Linked DNA regions of Homo sapiens: all the other regions are linked to region 4. The links are contacts of gene promoters, found by promoter capture Hi-C in blood cells and fetal thymus (Javierre and others, 2016). All regions are on one chromosome and are shown on one strand. The core of a region is centred on a gene start or on the middle of the fragment in contact, and the rest is flanking DNA. Distances in the headings are between cores, read along the strand shown.

The links. Contacts are between HindIII fragments. The CHiCAGO score rates a contact against its expected background, and 5 or more counts as called.
Region 1: a fragment that was not itself captured here is called in contact with the fragment with the promoter of SIM1 in region 4 in 3 of 17 cell types (naive B cells, total B cells and fetal thymus); the score reaches 9.7 in naive B cells.
Region 2: a contact is called between the fragment with the promoter of CCNC here and the fragment with the promoter of SIM1 in region 4, in 5 of 17 cell types (total B cells, monocytes, naive B cells and 2 more). The highest score is 11.0, in total B cells.
Region 3: a contact is called between a fragment that was not itself captured here and the fragment with the promoter of SIM1 in region 4, in 1 of 17 cell types (M2 macrophages). The highest score is 5.1, in M2 macrophages.

Annotation. Positions count from the first base shown.
Region 1 is chr6:99,621,800-99,625,075 of GRCh38, forward strand. No RefSeq gene overlaps it. Among named protein-coding and RNA genes, the nearest start is that of PRDM13, 17 kb to the left of the region's middle. The HindIII fragment of the contact is 5,828 bases long and covers 1-3,276 here.
Region 2 is chr6:99,567,355-99,570,342 of GRCh38, forward strand. CCNC (cyclin C) reads right to left here and starts at 1,306. Exons shown (of 12, transcript NM_005190.4): 1 at 1,142-1,306. The coding sequence starts at 1,173. It also overlaps the pseudogene TSTD3. RefSeq lists enhancers at 1,004-1,083, 1,204-1,493, 1,614-1,663. The HindIII fragment of the contact is 11,578 bases long and covers 103-2,988 here.
Region 3 is chr6:99,905,976-99,909,225 of GRCh38, forward strand. No RefSeq gene overlaps it. Among named protein-coding and RNA genes, the nearest start is that of MCHR2-AS1, 86 kb to the right of the region's middle. The HindIII fragment of the contact is 8,733 bases long and covers 1-3,250 here.
Region 4 is chr6:100,463,463-100,466,629 of GRCh38, forward strand. It overlaps SIM1 (SIM bHLH transcription factor 1), which reads right to left and starts at 1,459. Exons shown (of 12, transcript NM_005068.3): 1 at 1,152-1,459; 2 at 1-473. The coding sequence starts at 6. The HindIII fragment of the contact is 823 bases long and covers 1,341-2,163 here.

The sequences.
Region 1 (3,276 bases), core at 178-2,677, 840 kb before region 4:
GACCAACCTTGGCAACATAACGAGACTCCTGTATCTACCAAAAAAAAAAAAAAAAAAAAAAAAAAGGTAGGTTTTGCATTCTAAATAAGAAATATACTCAATTTTCAAAGAACAAAACTGTCTAAATAGGTATCTATCTAGGAGTCTTAATCCAATCTCATTTCTGTGCACTTCTGTCAGCTCATAGGTAATCAACCACGGGTAGAGGTACCACGAAGCTCACTGGCGTGAAATCCTTATATAAGACCTTGATATGGTCTGGCTGTGTTCCAGCCAAATCTCAACTTGAATTGTGTCTGCCAGAATTCCCAAGTGTTGTAGGAGGGACCCAGGGGGAGGTAATTGAATCATGGGGGCCGGTCTTTCCCATGCTATTCTCATGATACTGAATAAGTTTCAAGAGAGCTGATGGTTTATCAGGGGTTTCCGCTTTTGCTTCTTCCTCATTTTTTCTCTTGCTGCTGCCATGTAAGAAGTGCCTTTTGCCTCCCACCATGATTCTGAGGCTTCCTCAGCCATGTGGAACTGTAAGTCCAATTAAACCTCTTTTTCTTCCCAGTCTCAGGTATCAGCAGCATGAAAATGGACAAATACAGACCAGTACCTAATTCTGTGTTTTATTTCTTAAAGTAGATCCCCCAAATTCTATGAATTTCAAAACCAAAAAATCTTGATCTATACTTGTAATCACTTATTTTAGTTTCTTGTATACATCTAGTTTTCTTTTTGTAAATACAAATATCCAAGAATGAATGTATTTTTATTTTCTTCCCTGTCTTAAATATTTAATATTCACTCTTCTGTATCCTGCTTTTTATTCAAATTAATATACTGTGGAGAAATTTTCCATGATAATTCAAAGAGAGCCTCCTCACTTTTTTTTTCTTTTATTGCTACATAGTACTCTATTGTGTAGATGTAGAAAGACAGATTTAACCAATTCTCCTGTTGATGACCTTTGGGTTGTTTTCAATCTTTTATTACCTTAAAGACACTTCAATGAATAACTTGTGTTAAGTGATTTTGTAGGTGGGCTGCAGGTGTGTTTCATAAGGTGCTACTGCTTTGATTGCAGTGAGGAAAGAGCTATTGAGGATGCTGAGCTGGCCAGGACAGTGTCAGAATCAGACCAGCGTCTGGGAGAGGGATGATTGGCTGACTGTTCAACTGGTCCTTCTCTCCATAGTTGGAAAACTCAGAGTTACCTTTAGCTCTTGATCATACTCTGTACATAGGGAGACAACAATGGGGCCTCCACCCCATTCTTTTGTTCTCTTGGGAATTTGGCAAAGGATCCTTGGGAGGCCTTAGCTATAGAACTGTACCTCTCCAGGCCTAGCAATATAGAAATCCTAATGTTGGGCTCACATGGGAAAAGAGTATGTTTGCATGCACATGCATTTGAACTTTTAGTTTTTTCCTGTGAACACTATCACCAAATTTTGATTTCCCAATGATGCATATTATTTAAAAATACCTTATGTAAAACCGTCTTTGGGATTATGATTCAGACTTGTAACTGGATGACTAGAGCCTGAGCCTATGGTAAGTAGCAGGTACTGAGCACAACCCACACCAGCTGTAGAATAGTGACAAGCACTCCAGTAGGGAAAAAAACAAATGCAAATGAGATGTACTTGGCCATGGAACAAAGATGAAAATGACATTCACTTGTAAATGAGTTTTCTGTGTTTGATGTAAACAGAATGACATGTATTTTGCAGGAAGACCTCTATGACCTTCGGACAGTTGTTGAGTTCATTACATGTAGCTGCACATGTTTCTGACATTTCATTATTATTAATGTATCTCATGATCTAACCGTCTCTAGGTTTTTAATTTATTTAGAAGCATTTCCACAATTTTCTGTCCTAGGAGATGATCTTAGAGTTAAGGTGAGATGCTCATCATTGAAAGGTTAAATGCCCTGGAACACAGCTTGAATCTGACACTTTGCTCTTGGATAAGGAAACAGCTGATCTGATAGAATTCAAGAGCAAGAGGAAGACAATCAACTTCTCAGCTTTGCCATTTATAGCTAACCATGGTCCCCAGCCTAAGCATTTGCTCAAACATTAGATTTAGATTATTGATATGTGGCTTTGCTTTCTGAGCCTTGTACATCTTTCGACCCCATTTAAAATCTTCTCTTTTCTCTATAGCCTTCCCTGACTGTCCCAGCCCAAAACTTTAATACATACATTAGACATAGTAGATACTCAACAAATAGTTGAGAATTAGTTGATTAAACATTCTTTATTTCTTACTCTGAACATTGATGAAGCACTGAGAGCCCACTACATGCCAGGCACAGCACTGGCTGGGGACATATGGATGATTAAGATGGTCTCAAGCCAGGTGCAGTGGCTCACGTCTGTAATCCCAGCACTTTGGGAGGCCAAGATGGGCTGATCCATTGAGCTCAGGAGTGTGAGACCAGCCTGGGCAACATGGCAAGAACCCATCTTTATCAAAAATAGAAAAAGTCGGGCATGGTTGTGTGTGCCTGTGGTGCCAGCTACTCAGGAGGCTGAGGTGGGAGGATTGCTTCAGCCCAGGAGGCAGAGGTCTCACTCTAGCCTGGGTGGCAGAGTGAGACCCTGTCTAAAAACAAAACAAAACACAAAACAAAACAGAAAGATTGTCTCAAGCTCATGGTCTAGTGGAGAAGGCAAACATAAGAACAGAAATTGATAACACAATGTGGTGGGTATAGTGATGGAGATGAACACAGAGGAAGGGTACCTTCTTAGAGAGAGAAGGGTGAGGGCAGGGAAGGAGTTATATAGGAAAAGGCCTCCTGGAGGATGCAACACCTGAGCTGAGTCTTAAACAAGATGGGTAAGAGTCATCTAGGTCATGGTTAAAAGGAGAAGGAAGGACATTTCCAAGAGACAGAATAGCATGAGCATAGTGAGTGGGGAAGCAGCACGAATGTATATGAGGAATTCCAGGCATTACAGTGTTGCTATGGGGCAGAATGGCAAACAGGCAGTATTGCTGAGAGATGAAGATCCACCTGTGAGGAAGTGTGATGCAGTGGTTAAGAGAGTATGTGGGCTTTGGAGTTCAGTAGAGCTGAGTTTGCATCCTGCCTCTGCATCTTTCTACCTGTGAGAACTTGGTGAAACTACTTAACCTCTATATGCTTCAGTTTACTCATCTGTAAAATGGGAACAACAATGGCATTGTATTTAAAACATTCTTATGAGGGGTAATTGAAGTAATGTTTGCAAACTGCTTAACTCAGGTAAACATTAAAAGCATGTTGGCCAA
Region 2 (2,988 bases), core at 56-2,555, 900 kb before region 4:
ATTTCAGTGTGTGAAAACAATGCAACATATATACACACACATATATATATACATACACACACACACATATATATACACACACACACATATGATCAGTGGTAAAGCTTCTTTAACATGTCATCTCCACAGAATCACTTTATAGCAAGAGGAAAACCTGCTTTTCCTTAAATAGGTTACTGAGTTCATTGTTTCTTTTTTTCTCTTTGCAAAGGGCTAAAAAATGAACATCAGGAACAGATCCTATTCACAGAATCGAAATTTAAATTACTTACTAATGCTTTCTTAGCATAAAAAATTATACCAAGATACCTTGTCAAATTCTGTTCATCTTTCAACTATACAGTGGAAAGCCTACTCAAATGTTCAATTTACCCCATAACGCACCTTCCTGCCTGCTTAAACAAATGTATTTAGGGATAAATGTTTTTAATATTATTCTAGCTCTCACATGGTCACTGACAGAAACAAGAACTTATTCATGAAAAAGGTTAAAGAAACAGGTAAACAAAGTCACTGGAAAAATAGGCCTTTAAAACAAAATATAAAGCACAGGCTAATGAAATGGATAAATTTAGAGGGCACCTGCCCTATACCTTATCAATATAAAACTCCATCTAGACATAAAGTACGCGCAAGAAGCGGTTAGTAGGCAGAAACAAGCCAGACTCTCTCCTCTCCTCATAATATTAAATCCACTCAAGATATACAGTGAATGACAAAAGACCACGACGCCGATCACCCGAAGAAACCCCAGGTAAAAGCACGCCACAACTGTCCTGAACAGGTAGCCTCACAGTCTTGAGCTGAGTCACACTTCCCGTACCTGTGCCCACTCTATCCGACCCCCCGCGGCCTAGCTAAACCAAGAATCCGAAATTAAACTCCGAAACGTTCCTTCCCGGGAGACGAAACTCTCTCCCACCCCTCCCCCTCACAGATCCTTCCCTCCCCGAAACTGGGGCTGGGGGCGGGGAGGGGAGTCGCCTCAGAAAAGCGCATCTTGATTCTGACCGCTGCGGTCTCCCGTGAGGACCCCGGCACTCGGAACTGAGCTGGGATCCAGGCCCAGGGGAGTCACAGGCCCCGTCCTCACAGCTCCCCCAAAAACCGGCCCCAGGTGAGAAGACGGAAGATCGCTTACTAGTGGGAGCTCTGCCAAAAGTTCCCTGCCATGGAACACAGCTTGCCCTGATAAAAAAGCACCAGCCGGCGGAGCGGCCCGCGGAGCGACCATAGACCCAGCCCGTCCGGTAACCGCGCTCCTCGATCAAATCAGCTCGGCTCGACTCCGCTCCGCGGCGGCGACGGCGAAAGGAAGAGGATGGCCCCCTAGTCTCCTTCACGCCGGCCGACAACACTCAACTGTGCAAACCCGTTCCTATCGACAAAAGTTCCGGCCCGCGGTAGCGGAGGGAGCCGGAGGGGAGGTGCTGACCCTTGGAGGTGCTGAGATTGAAGAGAACTAGTGTTCACGAGAGCTCGCGGCGGTTGGAAGGCTCTCGCGAGAGCGTCTTGAGAATTCTGGCCGGGGGCCCAAGCCGCTCGGTCTCCTGTCTTCAGCACGGGAGTTGCTGAGTGGGTCTAACCTAGGCGAAGTGGCTCAGATACGGGGTTCTGTTATTACCTCTTCCAGGACTTCAAAAACAGAACAATGTGGCATTGTAATAAAGTACAAGGTTTTGTGACTTATTTTTCCTGTGATTGGAAAGAGAAATAAATGAAGATGACTTTGTTCTCAGGGATCAAGTGTTCCTTTTTTTTTTTTACTTTATTTATTTATTTATTTTGAGACGGAGTCTTGCTCTGTCTCCAGGCTGGAGTGCAGTGGCACGATCCCGGCTCACTGCAAGCTCCGCCTCCAGGAGTTCAAGCGATTCTCCTGCCTCAGCCTCCCGAGTAGCTGGGACTGCAGGCGCGCACCACCATGCCCAGCTAATTTTTGTATTTTTAGTAGAGATAGGGTTTCACCATGTTGGCCAGGATAGTCTCAAACTCCTGACCTCGTGATCCGCCCTCCTCAACCTCCCAAAGTGCTGGGATTACAGGCGTAAGCCACCGCACCCTGCCTGTTTTTTACTTTTGAGACGGAGTCTGGGTCTGTCACCCAGGATGGAATGCAGTGGCACAATCTCGGCTCACAGCAACCTCTGCCTTTCCAGTTCAAATGATTCTGCTGCCTCAGCCTCCCAGGTAGCTGGGATTACAGGGATTACAGGCGCGTGCCACCACGTCCATCTAATCTTTGTATTTTTAGTGGAGAGGGGATTTCGCTAGGCTGGTCTGGAACTCCTAACCTCAGGTGATCCGTCAGCCTCAGCCTCCCAAAATGCTGGGATTAACAGGCGTGGGCTACCAGGCCCGGCCTGGATCAGGCGGTTTTTTTTTTTTTTTTTTTTTGAGACGGAGTCTTGCTCTGTCGCCCAGGTTGGAGTGCAGTGGCGCTATCTAGGCTCATTGCAACCTCTGCCTCCCAGGTTCAAGCGATTCTCCTGCCTCAGCCTCCCAAGTAGCTGGGACTACAGGCTCACACCACCACGCCCAGCTAATTTTTGTATTTTTAGTAGAGACAGGGTTTCACCATGTTGGCCAGGATGGTCTCCATTTCCTGACCTCGTGATCCGCCCACCTCGGCCTCCCAAAGTGCTGGGATTACAGGCGTGAGCAACCGCGCCCGGCCGCGATCTTTTTTTTTTTTTTTTTTGAGACGGAGTCTCGCTCTGTCGCCCAGGCTGGAGTGCAGTGGCGAGATCTCGGCCGCGATCTTAATGGAGTTATTTTGGAGTGATAAAGTGCAAACTTACAGAGCAGCGGAATCAACAGTTTTGCAGAACATCTAAAAATATTCATGCATATATGTATGCACATGTATGTACATGTATGCACCTAATAGAAACATACTGCAAAAAAAGCCATAATTTAATTTTACAAGACGAAATATTTTGTATTTTCCATTTCATTTTCATTGTAGCAATGCATTTATTGTAAAAC
Region 3 (3,250 bases), core at 376-2,875, 560 kb before region 4:
TCTGTCACCATCCAGCATTGAGAATCCCCAGAGGCCATTCAGGCATTTGTCTATGTTGGCACTGGGACATTTCCTCAAGTCAAAATGGAGAATTTCTGCCCATTTGCTTTCACTTTTTCAAAATGACTGGCCAGTTTTGTTGAAATAGCCTGACCTTATACTTTAATAATCACCTACACAGAAATTAACTACTGTCCCTGTTTCCTCAACTTAGGAGTTCTAAAAATCAGTATAGGCCGGGCAGGGTGGCTCACGCCTATAGTCCCAGCACTTTGGGAGGCTGAGGTGGGCGGATCACTTGAGGCCAGGAGTTCAAGACTAGTATGGCCAACATGGCAATCCCCCGTCTCTACTAAACATACAAAAGTTAGCTGGGTGTGGTGGCGCACGCTTGTAGTCCCAGCTACTCGGGAGGCTGAGGCATGAGAATAACTTGAATCTGGGAGGTGGAGGTTGTAGTGAGCTGAGATCATGCCACTGCACTTTGGCCTGGGTGATAAACTGAGACCCTGTTTCAAAAAATAAAATAAAATAAAATCAGTATAGCTCATACTGCACTACATGATTTTTATAACTTAAATTCTGGTTTCATTTTTAAAGAGCACTTGGTATTCAAAATCTCACACTGTTTCATAAACCTTTCAGCACAAATCTGTACAGGGCAGTGACATGCTGTTTTGATTGTGTCTCAGCTCATTTATTTAAAAGGCCTGAAAGTTTGTTTCAGCAGATTTCCTGCAGGTGTGTCTGATTACCTGGGCTCCACTGATTCAGTAAGATAAATGGAAAACTTAGATCTTCATGAAATAGGGGCTTAAGGGAGAAATTCTGCAATGAATTGTCGTAAGAAGGAAAAAGTTCCCCATCTCTAGATATACTTAATCATAGGCTTGCTGACTACTTGTTTGAGACACTTTGGGAAGGAGAGTAATGTAGAATTAGATAGCTTGTAAGGTCTCAGCCCATTGAGAAATTCTATGAGTTTAAATTATGTGAAAAGATTGTCATATTTAGCTTTCAGATCTATTGAATTTTCAGTGACAGGCATATGGGCTGGCACCCAATATAGTAAGTTATCATTTGCGAAGTCTGGGTTCAGTATGGTAGCAACTTCAGAAAATCCTTTGCTGAATTTGTTCTTCAGCTTAAAAACTTCAGTCACTATTCTTTAGCCTTTTTCTTCTTCCTTTTCCTGGGGTGTCAAGCTCTACATTTGCAGAAAAATTGTTAACGTTTAAATATTAGGGAATCCAGATAACATCAGGCATAAGCATTCTTTGAAGAATCTCTAATGGTTCTTAATCATTTTGGAATCACGGATGCTTTTGGACCCTGCCCAGAACAGTGCACATTGAATTTTACAGGCTTAGAGGATTCACCCCAGATTAAGAATCCTTGTAATGAGCAATAGAAATGATCCCTGAAAGTATCGAAGACCCGAAGCCATGAAACTACTAGAATAAAATATTGAGGAAATGATTTAGGACATTGGTCTGGGCAAATACTTTTTAAAATAAGACCTCAAAAGCACAGGCAACCTAAGCAAAAATAGAAAAATGGGATTATATCAAACAATCAACAAAGTGACGAGACAACCCGCAGAATGAGGGAGAAAATATGTGCAAACTACTTGAGGGGATGATGGATACCCGACTCTTCATGATGTGCTTATTTCACATTGCATGCTGTATGAAAATATCTCATGTACCCAATATATATATATACCTACTATGTACCCACAAAAATAAGTAAAATAAAAGTCTAGCGAAAAAATATTTACAAACTATTCACTTGACAAGGGATTAATGATCAGAATATATAAGGAGCTCAAATAACTCTGTAGCAAAAAAAGATCTGATTAAAAAGTGGACAAAAGATCTGGATATTTCTCGAAAGAAGACATACAAATGGCCAAAAGACATATGAAAAAAAACCCAACATCACTAGTCATCAGAGAAATGCAAATCAAAAGTACAGTGAGATATCATCTCATCCCAGTTAAAATGGCTTTAATAAAAGAGACAGGCAATAATGAATGCTAGAAAAGATGTAGAGAAAGGTGAAACCTCATACATTGTGATGGGAATGTAAATTGGTACAGCCACTACGGAGAACAGTATGTAGGTTCCTCAAAAAACTAAAAATAGAACTACCATACGATCCAGCAATTCACTATTGCGTATATATCCAAATGAAAGGAAATTAAGATATCAAAGAGACACTTGCACTCCCAAGTTTATCTCAGCGCTATTCACAATAACCGAAATGTGGAATCAACCCAAGTGCCCATCAATGGATGAATGGGTAAAGAAAATATGGCATATATACACAACGGAGTATTTTTCAGCCATAATAAATGAAATCCTGTCATTTGCTGCAACATGGATAAAACTAAAGGTCATGTTAAGTGAAATAAGCCAACCACAGAAACACACATATTATATGTTCTCCCTTATATATGGGTGCTAAAAAAGTGAATTTCATGAAGATAGAGAGTAGATTAGTGTTTACCAGGGAGTGGGGAAGGTAGAGGTGGGGATAAAGAAGAAAAGTTGATTAATGGGTACAGGTATACAGTTTGATAGATGAAATAAGACCATGTTAGATAGATAAATAGGGTGACTATAGTTTATGATAATCTATTATATATTTCAAAATAGCTAGAAAAGAATTTGAATGGTTCTTGCATAAAAAAGACACAAACATTTAAGGAGATGAATATTCCAACTACACTAATTTGATCTTTACAAATTATATTAATGTATTAAATTATCACATACATCTCAAAACTATGTGCATCTATTAAAAAAAAGAACCTTTGCAAAGAAAAATGTATTCTCTCCAGTGTCTCATATTCTTACTTTTTAGGGACTGCCAGGACACACCAACTAGTCCTCAAGTTATTCTCAAGAGGCATTGAATTTCTTTGTAAATGAAACACATTAATGGAAGTAATAAATACCATATCCCCTGCCCAACAATAACCAAATTATATTTACATTAAAATAATCTGAGAATGGAAAAGGAGTTCATCAAGCATAAAAACTGAGAAAATCACAAAGGAAAAAAGCTGATGGATATGATGTAAAAATATAAAAATAAAAGATGGGGCCAGGTGCGGTGGTTCACGCCTATAATCCCAGCACTTTGGGAGGCCGAGGTGGGTAGATCACTTGAGGTCAGGAGTTTGAGACCCATTTGGTCAACATGGTGAAACCCTGTCTCTATTAAAAATACAAAAATTAGCCGG
Region 4 (3,167 bases), core at 209-2,708:
TTTCATTGTGTCTTGTTCCCCCTTTCTTCTCACAACTTAAGCTCCGCAGATTCATCCAAAACCAAAAATAAACTTTCAATTAGAGATCATATTTGGCAAAAACATAAAACATACTTTGAATAAAGAGGCTGAAGTATTTGCACCAAGAACAGTGTATTGATGGCAGTAAAAGACCAGCGGGGGTGAACGGAAAATATGTTCTTTGAAAATTCGGGATGCAGTATAGGAAAGTTGCTGATCCACCGAATTTGGGCGATCCACCGAATTTGGGCAATCCTGAGGGTCGTTCAGGGTATCAAATGCCAGTGGGACCCCTGAGGAGCCAGCCTTTTCTTCTACTGCCAGCTGCGAACCCTGGTCCTCGGAAAATCGACATAATAATCCCTGACGTTTGCTCTTCAGTCTCGCGGCATTTAAGGTATCTCCGAGCCCCTTTGGGAAGAGCAGGAACCCCAGACAACTCTTTCAAGGCCCTGTGAAGACAACAGCATCAGAGCATAAGAGATCAGCGGCTCCACAAGTACTCACACACTCGTCCCAATTCCAAAAACACGGCCGGAAAGGGCCTCAGTGCGCCTAGCCAGGCGTTTTGGGTTTGTTTTTAAAGAAACGGGTAAATCGGCAGCGAGACAGCCCCCTGCAAATAATGCTGGCATTCCCTCACCCATGCCAGCCGCATCCTCCAGACCCCTGGGAAGTTGCCCAAACAACAAAATACATATTTCTGAAGACCCGCAAGGGATCTTCCGCCGCGGATCCCCGAGTCCGCGCCCAGGCCGGGCGCACGTCCCAGGAAAGCAGGTTTCCGCAAATCAGAATTCCTCCAAGGCGAGGCAGGGGCCTTTCAGCTCCCTACCTTGGCAGATCTGGACCTTGGCTACCTCTTTAACTTGGGTCTCAAGTCTGAGGGATTCCTCAAAAAGTGACACTTACACACCAAGTCTCTCGGGACTCCCAAGGCGACCCAGCGCTCTGGCTGCCCAGCAGGGGCTGCAACAAGCGGGGCCCAGCAGCGCCAGGTTAACAGGTGGCGCGCTCGCGACAGCCCCTCGCAGGCTCCCCCGGGGGTGGGAGGCGCCGCGGCCTCTCCCACACCACCGCGGAGCTGCGGGGCTGCTGGGCGGGCGCGGGGCGTCTTCTGCTTCACCTACCTTCAGTCCCCACAAGCGGCAGAGGTTTCGGGGGCGCCCATCTCTTAACTGTTCTCATGCCTACCGTCCAACCCAGCGACACCGCCGGCCTCTCCGCTTCCCACCGGCAGAGAGGAGCAGAGCATTCCCGGCTCCCTTTTCTGGATCATGAATTGGAGGAGGGGTGCGTGGCAGAAAGAGGAGGATGCAAGCTTTGGGACGAGTGAGGTGATTTTAGAATCCTGGTCCTCCGTAGTTGCTACGAAGCCAGTTCACTATTATTCCTAATTGGAAGCCGAAAACTGCCCCCCGTAACTTCTTTATAGCTTAAGGGTTTAGCTTCAACTTCACTCCGGGGCCGCCTCTCTCCCGCCCTCCCTCAATGCCACTCACAAGCCCCCTCGCCTCCCATTGGCCTGGCGCGGCCAGGGGCGAGGCGCTCATTGGCCAATAGGGCTGAGTGACACGAGTCGGCCCCGAGCCGCCCTCCGCGCGCCCAGGCTCCGGGCTCTGAATCTTACTACCCGCGGGACCGCTGGACTCCTAATGAGCTCAGGGTGCCGGGTCGGCGCTGTCCGGTTGCCGCCGCTGCTCGCGGCCTCCTGGGCCTTCCCGACGTCGTGCGCGACCCGCGCTCCTCGAGCTCCCTGGGGTCGGGTGGTTGAGCGCTCAGTCCAGCGCGGCGGCCCAGCAGAACCGGGAACGTCCGGAGGCAGCGGAGGTCGGGCCTGCGGGTTAGGTCTACCGGCGGAGGAGGCAGGGTTCGCCCAAAGGCCCATCCCGCTGGCAGTCGCTGGCCGACGGCGTGCGCGAGGCCGGTTTGGGGAGTTATTTTCTCTTTCTCGTTTCTCTGAAACCATGGCGACACGGAATTCATTGCCAGAGGAAATAAATACAATAACTGTCTTTAAATTAATCCCAAAGAAGTGCGTCTTTTTCGAAATGGCTTGGGTTTGGGGCTGATTTTTTTCACCGTGGAAACTCGGCCGGGGAGTTTTCCTATGGGGAGCAGCTAGGGGGACACTAGGGGAAAAGCTTACATTTCAGGGCAAAATAGAATGATTGATATAGAGATACATAGCTCCCAACAGTCCTTTATCTTAAACATTAGCCAACTCTTTGTCGGGTTTTGTTTCAGGAAACAAAAGTCCAACATGATTATTCCTTACAGAAAGGATACAGTCTACATGAATGAACTTAACGATGCTCGCGGTTCCCTAATAGGAGCTGTTTAAACAAACGCTCACCAGGACTCTTGCTGACTAATTATCTTTTAGAGACCCTCTAATTTGAACCGCCTTCTCTTTCTCTCATCTGAGAAAACACAACAGGTAGCATCAAGAAAAAGTCAAATTGTCCCAAAAACAATTGTTGTCCTCACGAATCACCCCCTACAGACTCGACTCCCGGCTTGGTTTTGGTACGCCGGTGACCAGATTCGGCTCCTAGAGGTGCGTTTGGAGGGAGTTGTTTCATCTACCATAAAAATCAGTGAGAACACCAGTGACGGGGCACTCATCCTCTCGTTTGTGGCGCTAATTGCCACTGAGAAAATAAATACTTTGAAGAGGGGTGTGTGCCATTCTGCTGATATTCAGAACAACTTTAAGAGTGTTTGTTCAAAAATACAGACATCTGCCACCTCCTTGCCGCCCGATGGCAGTAAGATAGTCGTAGAAGGACAACAGCAGCTTTCTGGTGTTATTTACATATCTGGGCAACACCTGGCTGGAGGAGGTGAAAGTTTTGGATAGAAAGAAAAAGAAAGAAGCACGGAGATTTTGTAGGTCTTTCAAAACTGGAATCCAGCTAATGGACTCTAATCTAGGAGGAGTCATTTCCCCAGTGGCTGTAGCCACTTAGAGATCTGGTTCTGGGCGCCTTCCAACCACCCAATGATGCGCTTTTAACAAGACATAGCTAGAAGATAGCGAGAGATGCACTGTGGCTCACTTATACACAAGATTCCAGAAAGATCAGATAAGGTCAAGTTGGCTACTACATGTAAAGTCGGGGGTGGAGGGTGCGTGTGGAGAG